Linked DNA regions of Homo sapiens: all the other regions are linked to region 1. The links are contacts of gene promoters, found by promoter capture Hi-C in human tissues and cell types (Jung and others, 2019). All regions are on one chromosome and are shown on one strand. The core of a region is centred on a gene start or on the middle of the fragment in contact, and the rest is flanking DNA. Distances in the headings are between cores, read along the strand shown. Region 1 holds the start of BMP7 (bone morphogenetic protein 7). Region 2 has its middle 150 kb from the start of BMP7-AS1. Region 3 has its middle 130 kb from the start of BMP7-AS1. Region 4 has its middle 110 kb from the start of BMP7-AS1.

The links. Contacts are between HindIII fragments. The study calls those that stand out against the background at their distance.
Region 2: a fragment that was not itself captured here is called in contact with the fragment with the promoter of BMP7 in region 1 in 5 of the 25 tissues and cell types used here (H1 embryonic stem cells, IMR-90 fibroblasts, bladder and 2 more).
Region 3: a fragment that was not itself captured here is called in contact with the fragment with the promoter of BMP7 in region 1 in 2 of the 25 tissues and cell types used here (dorsolateral prefrontal cortex and thymus).
Region 4: a contact is called between a fragment that was not itself captured here and the fragment with the promoter of BMP7 in region 1, in 4 of the 25 tissues and cell types used here (dorsolateral prefrontal cortex, hippocampus, mesendoderm cells and 1 more).

The regions. Positions count from the first base shown.
Region 1 is chr20:57,264,948-57,268,515 of GRCh38, reverse strand. It overlaps BMP7 (bone morphogenetic protein 7), which reads left to right and starts at 1,875. Exons shown (of 7, transcript NM_001719.3): 1 at 1,875-2,811. The coding sequence starts at 2,394. LOC112268270 (translation initiation factor IF-2-like) reads right to left here and starts at 2,076. Exons shown (of 2, transcript NR_171651.1): 1 at 1,874-2,076; 2 at 1,229-1,733. RefSeq lists a cis regulatory region at 1,676-1,768, a promoter at 1-2,387 and an enhancer at 3,496-3,568. The HindIII fragment of the contact is 13,311 bases long and covers 1-3,568 here.
Region 2 is chr20:57,059,677-57,063,244 of GRCh38, reverse strand. No RefSeq gene overlaps it. Among named protein-coding and RNA genes, the nearest start is that of BMP7-AS1, 150 kb to the left of the region's middle. The HindIII fragment of the contact is 4,827 bases long and covers 1-3,568 here.
Region 3 is chr20:57,084,404-57,087,971 of GRCh38, reverse strand. No RefSeq gene overlaps it. Among named protein-coding and RNA genes, the nearest start is that of BMP7-AS1, 130 kb to the left of the region's middle. The HindIII fragment of the contact is 8,766 bases long and covers 1-3,568 here.
Region 4 is chr20:57,101,993-57,105,560 of GRCh38, reverse strand. No RefSeq gene overlaps it. Among named protein-coding and RNA genes, the nearest start is that of BMP7-AS1, 110 kb to the left of the region's middle. The HindIII fragment of the contact is 6,948 bases long and covers 1-3,568 here.

The sequences.
Region 1 (3,568 bases), core at 626-3,125:
ACTGGCCACATAATATCTGGGCCAGGTGCAAAATTAGTACGGGGCAGGGGGTACTTTGTTCATAGGTGATTCAGAACCACATATGGTGACCTCAGAGTAGGAAACCAAGTGTGGGGCCCTTAAGAGCTGGGGGGCCCTGTACGACTGTCCAGGTTGCAGGCCCCACAGCTCGCCTCCTGATATCCTGTGCTCCATGCTTGTCTGTTGAAGGAAGGAGTGAATGGATGAAGAGCAGGTGGTGGGGGTGGTTTGAGGGCCTTGCCTGGTGGGTGGGTAGAGGCCCCTCCCTGGCATGGGGCTCAAGACCTGTTCCATCCCACAGCCTGGGGCCTGTGTGTAAATGGCCAGGACCTGCAGGCTGGCATTTTTCTGCTCCTTGCCTGGCCTCTGGCCTCCCCTTTCTCCACCCATGTGGCCCCTCAGGCTGCCATCTAGTCCAAAAGTCCCCAAGGGAGACCCAGAGGGCCACTTGGCCAAACTACTTCTGCTCCAGAAAACTGTAGAAGACCATAATTCTCTTCCCCAGCTCTCCTGCTCCAGGAAGGACAGCCCCAAAGTGAGGCTTAGCCAGAGCCCCTCCCAGACAAGCGCCCCCGCTTCCCCAACCTCAGCCCTTCCCAGTTCATCCCAAAGGCCCTCTGGGGACCCACTCTCTCACCCAGCCCCAGGAGGGGAAGGAGACAGGATGAACTTTTACCCCGCTGCCCTCACTGCCACTCTGGGTGCAGTAATTCCCTTGAGATCCCACACCGGCAGAGGGACCGGTGGGTTCTGAGTGGTCTGGGGACTCCCTGTGACAGCGTGCATGGCTCGGTATTGATTGAGGGATGAATGGATGAGGAGAGACAGGAGAGGAGGCCGATGGGGAGGTCTCAGGCACAGACCCTTGGAGGGGAAGAGGATGTGAAGACCAGCGGCTGGCTCCCCAGGCACTGCCACGAGGAGGGCTGATGGGAAGCCCTAGTGGTGGGGCTGGGGTGTCTGGTCTCAGGCTGAGGGGTGGCTGGAAAGATACAGGGCCCCGAAGAGGAGGAGGTGGGAAGAACCCCCCCAGCTCACACGCAGTTCACTTATTCACTCAACAAATCGTGACTGCGCAGCTACAGTGGCTACCAGGCGCTGGGTTCAAGGCACTGCGGGTACCAGAGGTGCGGAGAAGATCGCTGATCCGGGCCCCAGTGCTCTGGGTGTCTAGCGGGGGTAAGAAGGCAATAAAGAAGGCACGGAGTAACTCAAACAGCAATTCCAGACAGCAAGAGAAACTACAGGAAAGAAAACAAACGTGCGAGGGGCGAGGCGAGGAAACAACCTCAGCTTGGCAGGTCTTGGAGGTCTCTGGGAGGAGAAAGCAGCGTCTGATGGGGGCGGGAGGTGGTGAGTGGGGAGAGGTCCAGGCGGAGGGAATGGCGAGCGCAGAGACAGGCTGGCAACGGCTTCAGGGAGGCGCGGAGGGGTCAGCGTGGCTGGCTTAAAAGGATACAGGGACTGAGGGGCAAGACCGGCTCAAGGGTCACCGCTTCCAGGAAGCCTTCTATTTCCGCGCCACCTCCGCGCTCCCCCAACTTTTCCCACCGCGGTCCGCAGCCCACCCGTCCTGCTCGGGCCGCCTTCCTGGTCCGGACCGCGAGTGCCGAGAGGGCAGGGCCGGCTCCGATTCCTCCAGCCGCATCCCCGCGACGTCCCGCCAGGCTCTAGGCACCCCGTGGGCACTCAGTAAACATTTGTCGAGCGCTCTAGAGGGAATGAATGAACCCACTGGGCACAGCTGGGGGGAGGGCGGGGCCGAGGGCAGGTGGGAGGCCGCCGGCGCGGGAGGGGCCCCTCGAAGCCCGTCCTCCTCCTCCTCCTCCTCCGCCCAGGCCCCAGCGCGTACCACTCTGGCGCTCCCGAGGCGGCCTCTTGTGCGATCCAGGGCGCACAAGGCTGGGAGAGCGCCCCGGGGCCCCTGCTATCCGCGCCGGAGGTTGGAAGAGGGTGGGTTGCCGCCGCCCGAGGGCGAGAGCGCCAGAGGAGCGGGAAGAAGGAGCGCTCGCCCGCCCGCCTGCCTCCTCGCTGCCTCCCCGGCGTTGGCTCTCTGGACTCCTAGGCTTGCTGGCTGCTCCTCCCACCCGCGCCCGCCTCCTCACTCGCCTTTTCGTTCGCCGGGGCTGCTTTCCAAGCCCTGCGGTGCGCCCGGGCGAGTGCGGGGCGAGGGGCCCGGGGCCAGCACCGAGCAGGGGGCGGGGGTCCGGGCAGAGCGCGGCCGGCCGGGGAGGGGCCATGTCTGGCGCGGGCGCAGCGGGGCCCGTCTGCAGCAAGTGACCGAGCGGCGCGGACGGCCGCCTGCCCCCTCTGCCACCTGGGGCGGTGCGGGCCCGGAGCCCGGAGCCCGGGTAGCGCGTAGAGCCGGCGCGATGCACGTGCGCTCACTGCGAGCTGCGGCGCCGCACAGCTTCGTGGCGCTCTGGGCACCCCTGTTCCTGCTGCGCTCCGCCCTGGCCGACTTCAGCCTGGACAACGAGGTGCACTCGAGCTTCATCCACCGGCGCCTCCGCAGCCAGGAGCGGCGGGAGATGCAGCGCGAGATCCTCTCCATTTTGGGCTTGCCCCACCGCCCGCGCCCGCACCTCCAGGGCAAGCACAACTCGGCACCCATGTTCATGCTGGACCTGTACAACGCCATGGCGGTGGAGGAGGGCGGCGGGCCCGGCGGCCAGGGCTTCTCCTACCCCTACAAGGCCGTCTTCAGTACCCAGGGCCCCCCTCTGGCCAGCCTGCAAGATAGCCATTTCCTCACCGACGCCGACATGGTCATGAGCTTCGTCAACCTCGGTGAGTAAGGGCAGGCGAGGGTACGCGTCTCCTTTCGGGGGCACTTTGAGACTGGGAGGGAGGGAGCCGCTTCTTCTATGCAGCCCGCCCAGCTTTCCGCTCCTGGCTGAAATCGCAGTGCCTGCCCGAGGGTCTCCCACCCACAGCCCTATGACTCCCAAGCTGTGTGCGCCCCCAGGTCGGGCGCGCTGGGTTCGGTGAGCCTGTAGGGGTTACTGGGAAGGAGGGATCCTCCGAAGTCCCCTCCATGTTACGCCGCCGGCCGCATCTCTGGGGCTGGAGGCAAGGGCCGTTCAAAGCGCGGGGCTCGGTCATGTGAGCTGTCCCGGGCCGGCGCGGCTCGCGCTACCTGGATGTAAAGGGCCCTTCCCGGCGAGGCTGCCTTGCCGCCCTTCCTGGGCCCCTCTCAGCCCTGCCTGGCTCTGGCATCGCGGCCGTCGCACCCCCTTACCCTCCCTGTCAAGCCCTACCTGTCCCCTCGTGGTGCGCCCGCCTTAGCGTACCGCGCGCTCCGAGCGCCTTGGGGCCCCTCTCCGGGCCGCCGGATGCCCCATTCTCTCTTGGCTGGAGCTGGGGAAGAAACGGTGCCATTGCTAATTTTCTTTGTTTTCTTTCTTTGTTTATTTTTTTCTTTTTTCTTTTTTTTTCTTTTCTTTTCTTTTTTTTTTTTTTTGAGACGGAGTTTCACTCTTGTCGCCCAGTCTGGAGTGCAATGGCGCGATCTCTGCTCACCGCAACCTCTGCCTCCCGGGTTCAA
Region 2 (3,568 bases), core at 416-2,915, 210 kb after region 1:
CAAAACCCACATTCCCCCATGGCCTACCTGCTGCCAGCCTCCCACATGCACCTTCACCCGGCCGCTTTTGCTTTGTTCTTTAAATAATGGCTTCCTCTTCCTGCCAGTCCCAGCTCCCATGTCATCTCCTTCAAAAAGGCTTCTTGGGCCTCTGCTACCTGCTGCCACCTGCCACACTTTACCCATTTTATAGCCTCCATGTGACACAGACAAGAGACAGGGAAATACTGGGTGGAAGAGGGCAGCTCCCTGGCAGAGGCCCCGCCCCAAAGCCTGGAAACCTGCAACCCTAAATGGGAACAGGCACTCCTGTTTTCATGCCCAAATGTTGCCTTTTGGCCTGCCATGGCCCCCTATCCTGTACCCATATAAACCCCAAACCCAGGTTCCACGAGCAGATGAGCAGAAGAATGGAGTGGTGGAGGAGGAGAGAAGAGAAGGAGCGTCTGAACGTCTGCTGGGGACAGTCAGAGAGATCGGCCCAGGGACAGCCAAACTCCAGGGAAAGATCATCTTCCCACGCCATTCCCTTTCCAGGTCCCCATCTGTCCTGCTGAGAGCCACCTCCAGCACCAAATAAAATCCCTGCATTCACCATCCTTCAAGTCCATGTGTGACCTGATTCTTCCTGAATGCTGGACAAGGACCTGTGTACCAAGACTGAGCTGGTTAACACTTAAGCCCTCCATGGATGGCAAGGCTAAAAGAGCACACTGTAACACACGCCTACTTGGGCTTCGGGAGTCACAGGATCCCACCTCCTGGATGCTGTTGTGGGGCTGGAGCCCAGGGGTGCTCACCCTATCTCCTGCACCTGCCTGTCTGCGTGCTCTCCCTCCTGTAAGGGGTTTGAGCACACACATGAGCCGTACCCTTGTTGCACATCCTGCAAGGGGGTTCAGGGAACTCTCCTGTTTCACATAGATATCCTTGTCAGATTCCCAATCTTTTCAATGATCTTATTTATAGGCTTTCCTATTGGTGAACATTTTCCCTGTGGCCCCTCCAGAAGCAAAGCTTTCTGAGGCAGGCACACTCTGGATCCTGCCCTCAGCGATACTGCACATGGTGTGTCCTCGGAAACCGGCACCGATAAGTGTCCAAGACATATTTATTGACTAACTGAAAGACACACGTTTACATAAATCCACCAGTGAAAATCAGGGTTGGGTACAGAATTTGCAGGGCCCAGTACAGAATGAAAAGGCGGAGTTCCTTGTCCAAAAATTATGAAGAATTTCAAGAGAGCATTAAACCCAGGGCAGGATGCTTCTAAGTGTGGGGCCCTGGACACATGCCCGTGAAGCCATCCCTGACTACGATATTACAACCACGGCCAAAGAATAATTTCTTAACTAAAAGTTCTTACTTCACTCAGTGCCCCCCAAACTCAAGTCCCAGCAGGGGTTCATTGGTAGGAATCCAGCTAAGAAAAATGTGGACAATGGAAGTAGTTTTTTTCTCAAGGCTAAACTGATGTCTCAGGGCTCAGTCTTAACTATTCTGCAACTGCTTTCCTTTTCTATTTTTGCTGGGAAAGTGTCTTCTCTTTTGAGAAGTGATGGTGATGCTGGATGTAATTACAGAGTACAAGGTTTGAGACTCTCACCCCCAGTGTTTTGGGTGCTTGCTTTGTATGTTGCCCTACTCTGTGGACTCCGGCATCTGAGAAGCGTCCTTTGAAGAGTTTAGTGGGATGGCTCCTATGTCCGTTCCCTTTCAGCAAAGAATCTGAGAGCATCATGGCCAGCAGAGGGGGCCGCAGGAATGCCGAATCCCCCTGGCAGGTCCCACATGTGGAGCTGCTCTCCCATCTCTCAGCTACCAGGGACGTACTTTATTAGGAGGAGAATCAGAATTCTATGAAACTCACCTGATGACCCTCCCTTTGGCATTTTGTATTTGCACGGTCTTCTTGGGCTAAAGCCTTTTTGGCTGAAATCCATGGTTCTGAGCCCTGGCTGCGTGTCAGCCTCACCTGGTGCGTTTTAAAAACATAATGTCCTGAGCTCGCCTCCCAGCATTTCTGATTCAGTTAGTCGGGGATGGGGCCTGGGCATCGGAGTTTGTAATGTCACTTCCCATCCCTGCTCTTTAATTCCAATTCTAATGAGTTGAGAACGCCAGCCAAACAGAATCTCTATCCGAAACTGGTGGTCTCATGGGAAAGGGAGTGAGTGCTTCTTTTTGGGGCCTGGGACAACTGTCTTCATTGCCTTCTTAGAGAAGGACAGTTTCAGCAAAGCACCAACAGGGCATGCCACAGGTTTGGGCAGGAAGCCTTGGGTGGTGCCCTGCCTCATGCTTGGTGGCACCTGAGCAGCTGTCCCTGACCTCTGCCTGGTCAGGAGCTTGTCCCGGTTTTCCTGTCTTGCCTGCGTCATGAGCAGGCCCACCCCTGGAAATGTGGCAGCTAGGTGTCTGGGCCCAGTGGGCTCTGGGTTGCAGCTGCTCCTTGCAGCCAGTGCATTGAGAGAACAGGCTGAGGTGCTGCCTTCTCCCTGAGCCGCCTCCTCCAAACCCTCGTGTAGCTCTGTCCCCAGCTGAAATATGATGACATTTACAGACTGCCTGTGAACGTGTTTCCTAATAGTAACCTTTTCAACAAAAAGAATAATTCAAAGTTTATGCAAAAGGCAATAGAAACCCCAAATGACTCAAAAGGTATTTTGGGAGTGGTTCCTCCCGCTGATCAAATGAGTAATCCTTCTAAGAGAGTACAAGCAATTTAATAAGAAAACTGTCTCCACGGTGAAGTTGCTTGAACCTGGGAGGTGGAGATTGCAGTGAGCTGACTTTGTGTCACTACACTTCAGCCTGAGCGACAGAGTGAGACTCTGTCTCAAATAATAATAATAATAATAATAATAATAATAATAATAACTCGTTCTCTGTCAGCAACCGCAGAGGCAAATCTCAAGACTTCACAGCCCTGCTCACCCGCACCCCACCCACTTCCCCATTGCCTCTGTCCTGAGATGGTTCCTTTCTAATATTCTGAAAAAGAGTTTGTGTCTCCCAGCATTACATTTATACAGGCATACCTTCTTTATTGCAATTTGCTTTATTGCATTTTTTACAGATTGAAGGTTTTGTGGCAACTCTGCCTCCAGCAAGGTTCATGGTGCCATTTTTCCAACAGCAGGTGCTCACCTGGTGTCTCTGTGTTGCATTTTGGCAGTTCTCACAATAGAGCTAATCATTTCATTATTATTATATTTGTTATCGTGATCTGTGGTCAGTGATCTTTGATGTTACTATTGCAGTGTTTTGGGGCACCACGAACTGTGCCCGTATAAGACAGTGAACTTAATTGATAAATGTGTGTGCCCTAACTGCTCCACTGGCCATTCCCCCATCTCCTCCCTCTCCTCATGCCTCCCTATTCCCTGAGATGCAACAATGTTAAATTGGGCCAATTAAGAAACCTACATTGGCCTCCAAGTGTTCAAGTGAAAGGAAGAGTCGCATGTCTCTCACTTTATTATTTATTTATGTATTTTTTGAAACAGGGTCTCTCTCTGTGGTCCAGGCTGGAGTGCAGTGGTGCAATTATGGCTTACTGCAG
Region 3 (3,568 bases), core at 429-2,928, 180 kb after region 1:
GTCTTAAAAAGAGACTCTAGAAGGAAATGTTTATTCTCTACATCTGGACATAGCTAGTGAGGAGGTGATGGCTGGAGCTGGTGCAACCCTCGTGCGCCATGAGGAGATGAGCCTTAGGACCAAACTTGACATGTGGAGGGTAGAAGGATCCTGGGTCTCTGATAATGTCACTGAGTCCATCAGCGAGCAACCTGGCACTGCCACCCTCCTCTGGATTCGTGATGAAAATGATAAAGAGTTATTAAAAGCATCTCTGGTAGAAGTGTGTTCCTTTGTAGCTAAAAGCCTCCTGATTCCTGTCTTGCCTGGGTTTATTCTGTACAGTGCTGAATAGAAGAAATGCCAACCTGATTTTATTCCAGAGGATTTCAGTGGCAGCCTGTGAGTCAGCCTTGTATGCACAAAGCCACAGGTACAGATGTGTGTGGAAACGGACAGCTTCCCAGCAGTAATTTTTGATTTATGTTATTTTTATAAATCATTATAAAAAAACAATTCTGGAGCCTGCGCTTTCGAGTCTCAATGCGGAGCAGGTGTGTGTCTGATCATAGAGAGAGGTGCAGCAGGGTGAGCTCTCGTCAGCCCTCTCAAGCCACCTGGTTGGCAGGTAGGTGGCGTGGGAGCTTGCAAAGACAGCCCAGCATGCGCACAGGCTCCCTTGAAGGAAGGGCAGGAGCAAGGCCGCAGGGAGGCGGGCGCGGCTGTTCAACAGCAGACACGTGACCAGGGAGCACGCACAAGTGGCTGTTCAACAGCAGACACGTGACCAGGGAGCACACACGGGTGGCAGTAGGACCACTGAGGTCTAGAGGTCAGGGACGCCTTCCTGAAGGAAGAGGCCTCTCAGCCAAGCCCTGAAAGGTGTGGGCGGTTAGAAGGGAATGGGGAAGGGGTCGGGGTTGGGGTGGGGAGAGCTTTCCACCTAGACAGCAGCTTTGCACGGGCCATGTGAGAAGTGAGACGGTGCAGGATTTCTTCAGGGAGCCCCTGAGACAGCGAAGTTGCCGCAAAGCTGGATCTTACGTTCTGATGCTAACATTTGCATTCTGTTAACACGATTTTTGAAAATCTCCTGTAATGTCGATAAGTAACAGCGTTCACGCATTTGTGAGCATGACTTTGTAATGGCAAAACCCTGGGATAGAGCAGTTTTCTCAGCCATGGCACCATCAGCCTTCGGGGCTGGGTAACTCACGGTGGGGGCGGCCAGTGCATTGTGGGGCATCTGCAGCATCCCTGGACTCCACCCACGAGATGTCACTAGCAATCTTCCCTCCCAGTCAGGAAAACCAAAAATGTCCCCAGACATCAGCTACTGATGCCCCAGGGGGGCAAAATCCTCCCCAGTTAAGATCCCAGGGCTAGACTAAAAGAAGGCAGGTCTGTCCACTAGAGAATGGCCTGGGTGGGCAGAGCGTCCTGCCCTGGAAGACTCAGCCACGTTTCTGGTGATGAACGGCCGGTGAGGAGTGGGGATTCGGAAGTGCTGCTGCCTACCACAGGGGTTGCTCCCGTTGTATGTTACTATTGAGCCTGTGGACCCAACACACACTCACAGATGTGCTTGCTACTCAAGGATGGAACAAGGTCATGGCAGCAGGCACCCTTGGTTGCCTTCCTGTGTCCTAACGGCCCCTGATGTAGCTCCAGGTCCAGCTCTCAGGCCCATGAGCCCCTGGGAGCGCAGGTGCCAGTCCCGGTTCCTGTGAGTCAGTCGTGGTACTCCGGGTCCTATTGATGGTGATCGGTTTCGGGATGGGCATGTGACCCAGTTCTGGCCAATGAGGGGTGAGGAAAGGTCTGATGGGAGCTCCTGGAAGAGGTGTCCTCACTGATCCAAAGACCCCAAAAGGCCAGGATCCTCTTTTTCCACCCCCTGAAATCAAAACAGCCATCCTGAAACCACGAGGGAGCCAGTCTGGGGTGGCGGAGTGGAAAAGCGAAAAGCACCCGGCTCCTCCAGGCCGCGCGGGCTGCTGCATTCACCAGCTTGGGGCTGCCCTGAGGCCTCTGGGGAGGGAGGTAACACACTTCTTGAGGGTTTAAGATGATGGGCATGGCAGTTTCTGGTTTTTGCCACTGAAAGCATCCTGGTATCAGACTTCTCAGGAAGGCTGTGCAAGGGTTCATGTAGTAGATGTTCAATGCACACGCAACATTCTTGGAGATGGGATTTGAAAGCATCACACGACCCAGCCGTCTCTCAAGCTGCTTCTGTCAGGACCACTGACTGCTATCACTCAGCGCAGACTCCTGCACAGTGGGGTCTCATCTTGAGGTTGGGGTGGTGACAAAGTGAGTGTACAAGTTAAATGATGACCCGATGACAATGCTATATGGGCCACGGGCATCTGGATGGAGATGGGCCCTGGAACAGAGGAGCCTCCCTGGCTTTGATGCTCACAATAAACCTGGGACTTTCCCATAAAGTGGAGGCCACCCCATCCCCCGCCCCAGGGACTCTACCAGCTCTTCTTTATGGTACAAAAGAAACACTTCCCATAGTTCATTAAAGCTTTTTATGTTTTTTTTAAATTAAAATTAAAAACAAAATGAGTAAAAGAAGGCAGAGAAGAAAGAGCCCCTCCCTGAAGCCACATGGTTGTCCCAGTGCAGCTGAGGTCCGCCCCACAACAGACTGAACCCCACACCCCACCCCCAGGCAGGATCTTCCTGGGGATCCAAGGGTGACATGCAAGATGAATCCAGGCTTTGCAAGGCCAAGGATGGTGTCTCCGTGTGCCACCTACCTGGGCACAGAGCTGTGGGAAACCCAGCCCCTGAGGGTCTGCAAACCTCCTCACTCCCAGCTGAATCCGCTTCCTCCTGATACAGTGGAGGAGCCTGCTGTGAGGCCCCAGTGTCCGCACCTCAGCATTGCCAGTAGGAAGATGCCACCCCGCCCTGTGACTGTCAGGTGGCAGGATGTGCCTGAATTGGGGCAGCTGCCCCCACCCCCCACCTCCTGTTCTGAGCCCTGTTGGGGCCCAGCCTGGCCTAAAACCCAGCACATGTCAGTGGTAGGGGAGCTGGCCTCTCCTTACCCAAGGGCCACCAAATGCTAGTGGCTTCTCTGACCCACCCGTGGTCGAGGCCAGAAACATTGGATGGCTCAAGATGTCTTGACATATCCTAGGCTGTGGCGGCCACCCCAAAATGGGAAGCGGGGTCTTTCCCAGGCCAGTTGTCCATTCTGTCACCCAGCAGCTCCACCATCATGGTCTCCTCCCCTGGTCACTCCTCTGGATGGAGAAGACATCCCCTCATCCAAAGACACGTGGCCTCAGACTGTGGGAGCGGGACTGTTTGCTGACAGTCGAGGACTGAGTTGTCACCTTTGTGAACGGCATTATAGGAAGAGTGGCCGGAGAACCGACCTGAGAGAAAGCAGAGGTTGTGCGGATTTCCCAGGGCTGTGAGACAAGTCACCATCCACAGAGGGGCTTAAAACAACTTCCCATTTTGGGGTGGCCGCCACAGCCTAGGATATGTCAAGACATCTTGAGGCATCCAATGTTTCTGGCCTTGGCCGGGGGTGTGTGGGAGAAGCTACTAGCATTTGGGTGGC
Region 4 (3,568 bases), core at 686-3,185, 160 kb after region 1:
ATCAGTATCATTCATTCAGTCATTTGACAAACATGTAGTGAGTAACTACTATACGCCAGACACTGTGCCGGGCAGTGGGAAGTCGGGGTGTCCATGAGGACAAAATCCTGCCCTCTCTGTCCTTAACAGTTCAGTAGCTCCTTAGGGTTCCTGTGAGGATTAAATAAGACAGCATGAAATTGAGGGAATTTGATGCGGTGGAACTCTTTGCATCTTGATTGTGGAAGATGATTTTGTGACTGTGGAGGTTTGTCAAAACTCACAGAACTGCACCTTGACTATACATACATTCTACCTCAGTCAATGATGCTCAGTTTCATAAAAAAAATTAAAGAGTGTCTTCTCTTTCCATTAGTGGTTAGGCTTATGTTGCAAGTCAAAGGAGAAAAGCTTCACATACAGTGAAAACTCATTAAGATAAAAAATCCCTTTAGAGAAGAAGAGAGAGCAGGTGTCAAGCGCTTGGCCTGGCTGCAGACCGAGTCAAGTCCTTAGCACCAGCCATTGTCACCAGAGTCCTCTTCCCACTGTTGGTTTTCAGCTGTTTTGAATTAAGTGTGTCGTGACTCCCTTCCCTGAGCTGAGATCACCGAGGAGTGACCGCGGCTCAGAGCCCATGCCTAGGAGCTTCGAAAGGCAGAGCTGACAAGTTGAGTGGCCCTAAAATCATTACCAGGAAGGAGCTCAGCCACGGGGCTGCTTGGAACCCGGCCTGGGGCCTCTTGGCAAGTGCAGGCTGGAGGAGGGGGATCAGGCCAGCCCCACGTCCCCCCTGCTGATCCTCCCACCCTCTCTCCCAGCCTAGTGTCCAGGACTTGTCCCCAAGTGGGAGTCCCAGGAGGGCAGGGACCGTGGCCAGGTGCACCCCGTGTTGTCATAATCTCTCCACTGGCCTGAATGCTCCGAGGAGACCAGGATGAATGTGAATCAAAGTGTGGAGCCTCCACTCCCAAGAGGAGAAGAGAATCGAGAATTAAGCCTGTGAGATGTAGCTGTACACAGAGAAGAGATGAGGGCGGCAGGGAGCCCTCTGAGGAGACGACATTCTTGATTCTTGAGCATGAGTTGGAAGAAATGGAGTCAGCCAGGTGGATATTTGGAGGAGCAGAATCCCGGGTGAAAGGAATGACTGTGCCAAGGTACTGGGGCAAGAACATGCCCAGTGTGTTCCAGGCACGGCTGGGGTGGAGGGAGCGGGTAGGCGAGATGGAGACACAGCAGGAAAGCCAGGTGGTGAGGACCGTGGCCCAAGAATGGGACCTGGAGTTTACTCAGAGAGAGAGACAGAGTAGCAGACCTGTTGGAATGGGAGCAACAAGGCAGGGTCTTCCCCCCAGCAAGCTCTGCTCGGGGACGGAAGGTGCGGGGGGCATGTTGTCAGCGATCATGGACACCAGGCCAGGACTTAGACTTCTGGAAGGACGCGTTCAGCCCTGCCTTGTAGTCACCCACACTTCCGCCTACTGCCAGGGTTTTCTACCTCGGGAATAACACACGGGCTGTATCTTGAGGATTTGTTTTCCTTTTTTCTAACAACACAAAAAGCTAACAAGTGAGAATAGGCCTTTCTGTGTGCCAGGATCTACATACTGGATGCATATATATATATATATATATTTTTTTTTTTATATGGTGCCTCGCTCTGTCACCCAGGCTGGAGGGCAGTGGCGCAATCTCGGTTCACTGCAACCTCCGCCTCGTGGGTTCAAGCGATTCTCCCGTCTCAGCCTCATGAGTAGCTAGGATTACAGGGGCACACCACCACACCCGGCTAATTTGTGCGTGTGTGTGTGTGTGTGTGTGTGTGTGTATTTTAGTAGAGATGGGGTTTCACCATATTGGTCAGGCTGGTCTTGAGCTCCTGACCTCAGGTGATCCAACTGTCTTGGCCTCCCAAATTGCTGGGATTACAGGTGTGAGCCACTGTGCATGGCTATCCATGTATATCTTTGAAGGCATCACCTGCCTTGGAAACATGAGACCGAGGACTTGGTCACAAATCAAGTGGACGTTTTGGAGTGTCAGCACAATCTGTGTCCATATTTGCCAACAAGTTTTTAAAAAATGATGTTTTCTATAATCCTGGATTTGCACGGTGCGATCTTGATGGTGTCACCTTTCTCCCCGTTTCTATCCCAGCAATAATCTTAAATTCTACTCAAAACAAAGAGCTCCCTGTTGGCAGTTAATCCTCAAAGGGAGAGCTTTGTTCGAGACTAAAAAACCTCATTCAACAACGTTGGCAAGAGCTGGCATTCTTTGTGCCCACTCGGCCCAGTGTTTTCAGCTCTGACTAGGAGCCTGCATTTGAGAGCTTAAGTTCATTTTTTTTTCACCCCTTGCAAGTAGACCTCTCTGTCACAAGGCGCATTAGTGGAGCAGGTATTTAAGGGAATAATAGAGGAATTAGAGCAGCCGCCAGGAATAGAGGCAGGGGGCTGGGGGAGGATCTCCAGGTGTGCTGAGCGAGGGGGTTTCTGGAAAATGGGACCCAAGGACAAAGGAGGAGCTGGGTCTTCCAAGAGGTTCTCCCCACGCTCAACAGACACACTTTTGTATTCATTTTCAGTGCTGTGTAACAAATCGCCATAAACTTTGTGACTTAAAACCTCCTTTTGCTACCCATCAGCTCTGGAGGTCAGGGGTTTCACACAGTGCGACTAGGTTCCCTGCCCCAGGTCTCGCCAGGCTGAAGTCAAGGTGTTGGCAGCCTGCGTGCTCCTCTGGGGCTCTGGGTGGTCTTCCAAGCTCATGCGATCGGGCAGAATGCCATCCCTGGGGGGTAGAGCTTGGGTCTTACTGGCCGTCAAGGTCACTCTCAGCTCCTGGTGGCCACCTCATTCCTGGCTCCGTGGCCCCTTCCATTTTTGAAGCCAGCAACCGAGAATCTCCCTCACATCAAATCTCTTTTAGGCTTTGAATCTCCTTTTCCAGAAGGGGCCTCGTCCCATTCCCGGGCTCACCTGGTTGTTAGGTCAGGGTCCCTTCAACTCACACAGTCATGGTGCCACAGCAGAGCTTGCTCCTGGAGCGCTAGCCCATGGCATCCACAGGCCCTTCCACACTGGAGATAGGGGGGATTATGAGGCAAGGGGTGGGCTCTGACAAGGGTCACCCTGGCATTCCACCTGCCACGCCTACCTTCATGGCCATGAGCAGACACTCAGAGCTGCTCACCAATGCCAGGCCTCAGGAGCCCCAGCGATGGCCCCGAAAGCCCCACACTCTCCATCGAAGCCGGGTGGTTAGGGCCTGAGGCCTGGGCCCCAGACTCGGGTATAAATCTTAGCTCTGGGCTCTTAGTCATGTGACTGTATCAGCCAGGATGGGTTAGATTATGCCGAGGTGACAATCGAGCCTAACATCTCTATGGTTTAAAAACTGAGGTGTATCTCACACAAATCACATGACTGAGGTGTACCTCTCACACACATCACATGACTGAGGTGTATCTCACACACATCACATGCCTCTTGCAGGTTGGCAGAGAGACAGTGCTACCATGATCACTCAGAGACCCAGACAGATAGAGCAGCCATCATCTTAAATGTGGCCAGTAGGCAGGCCA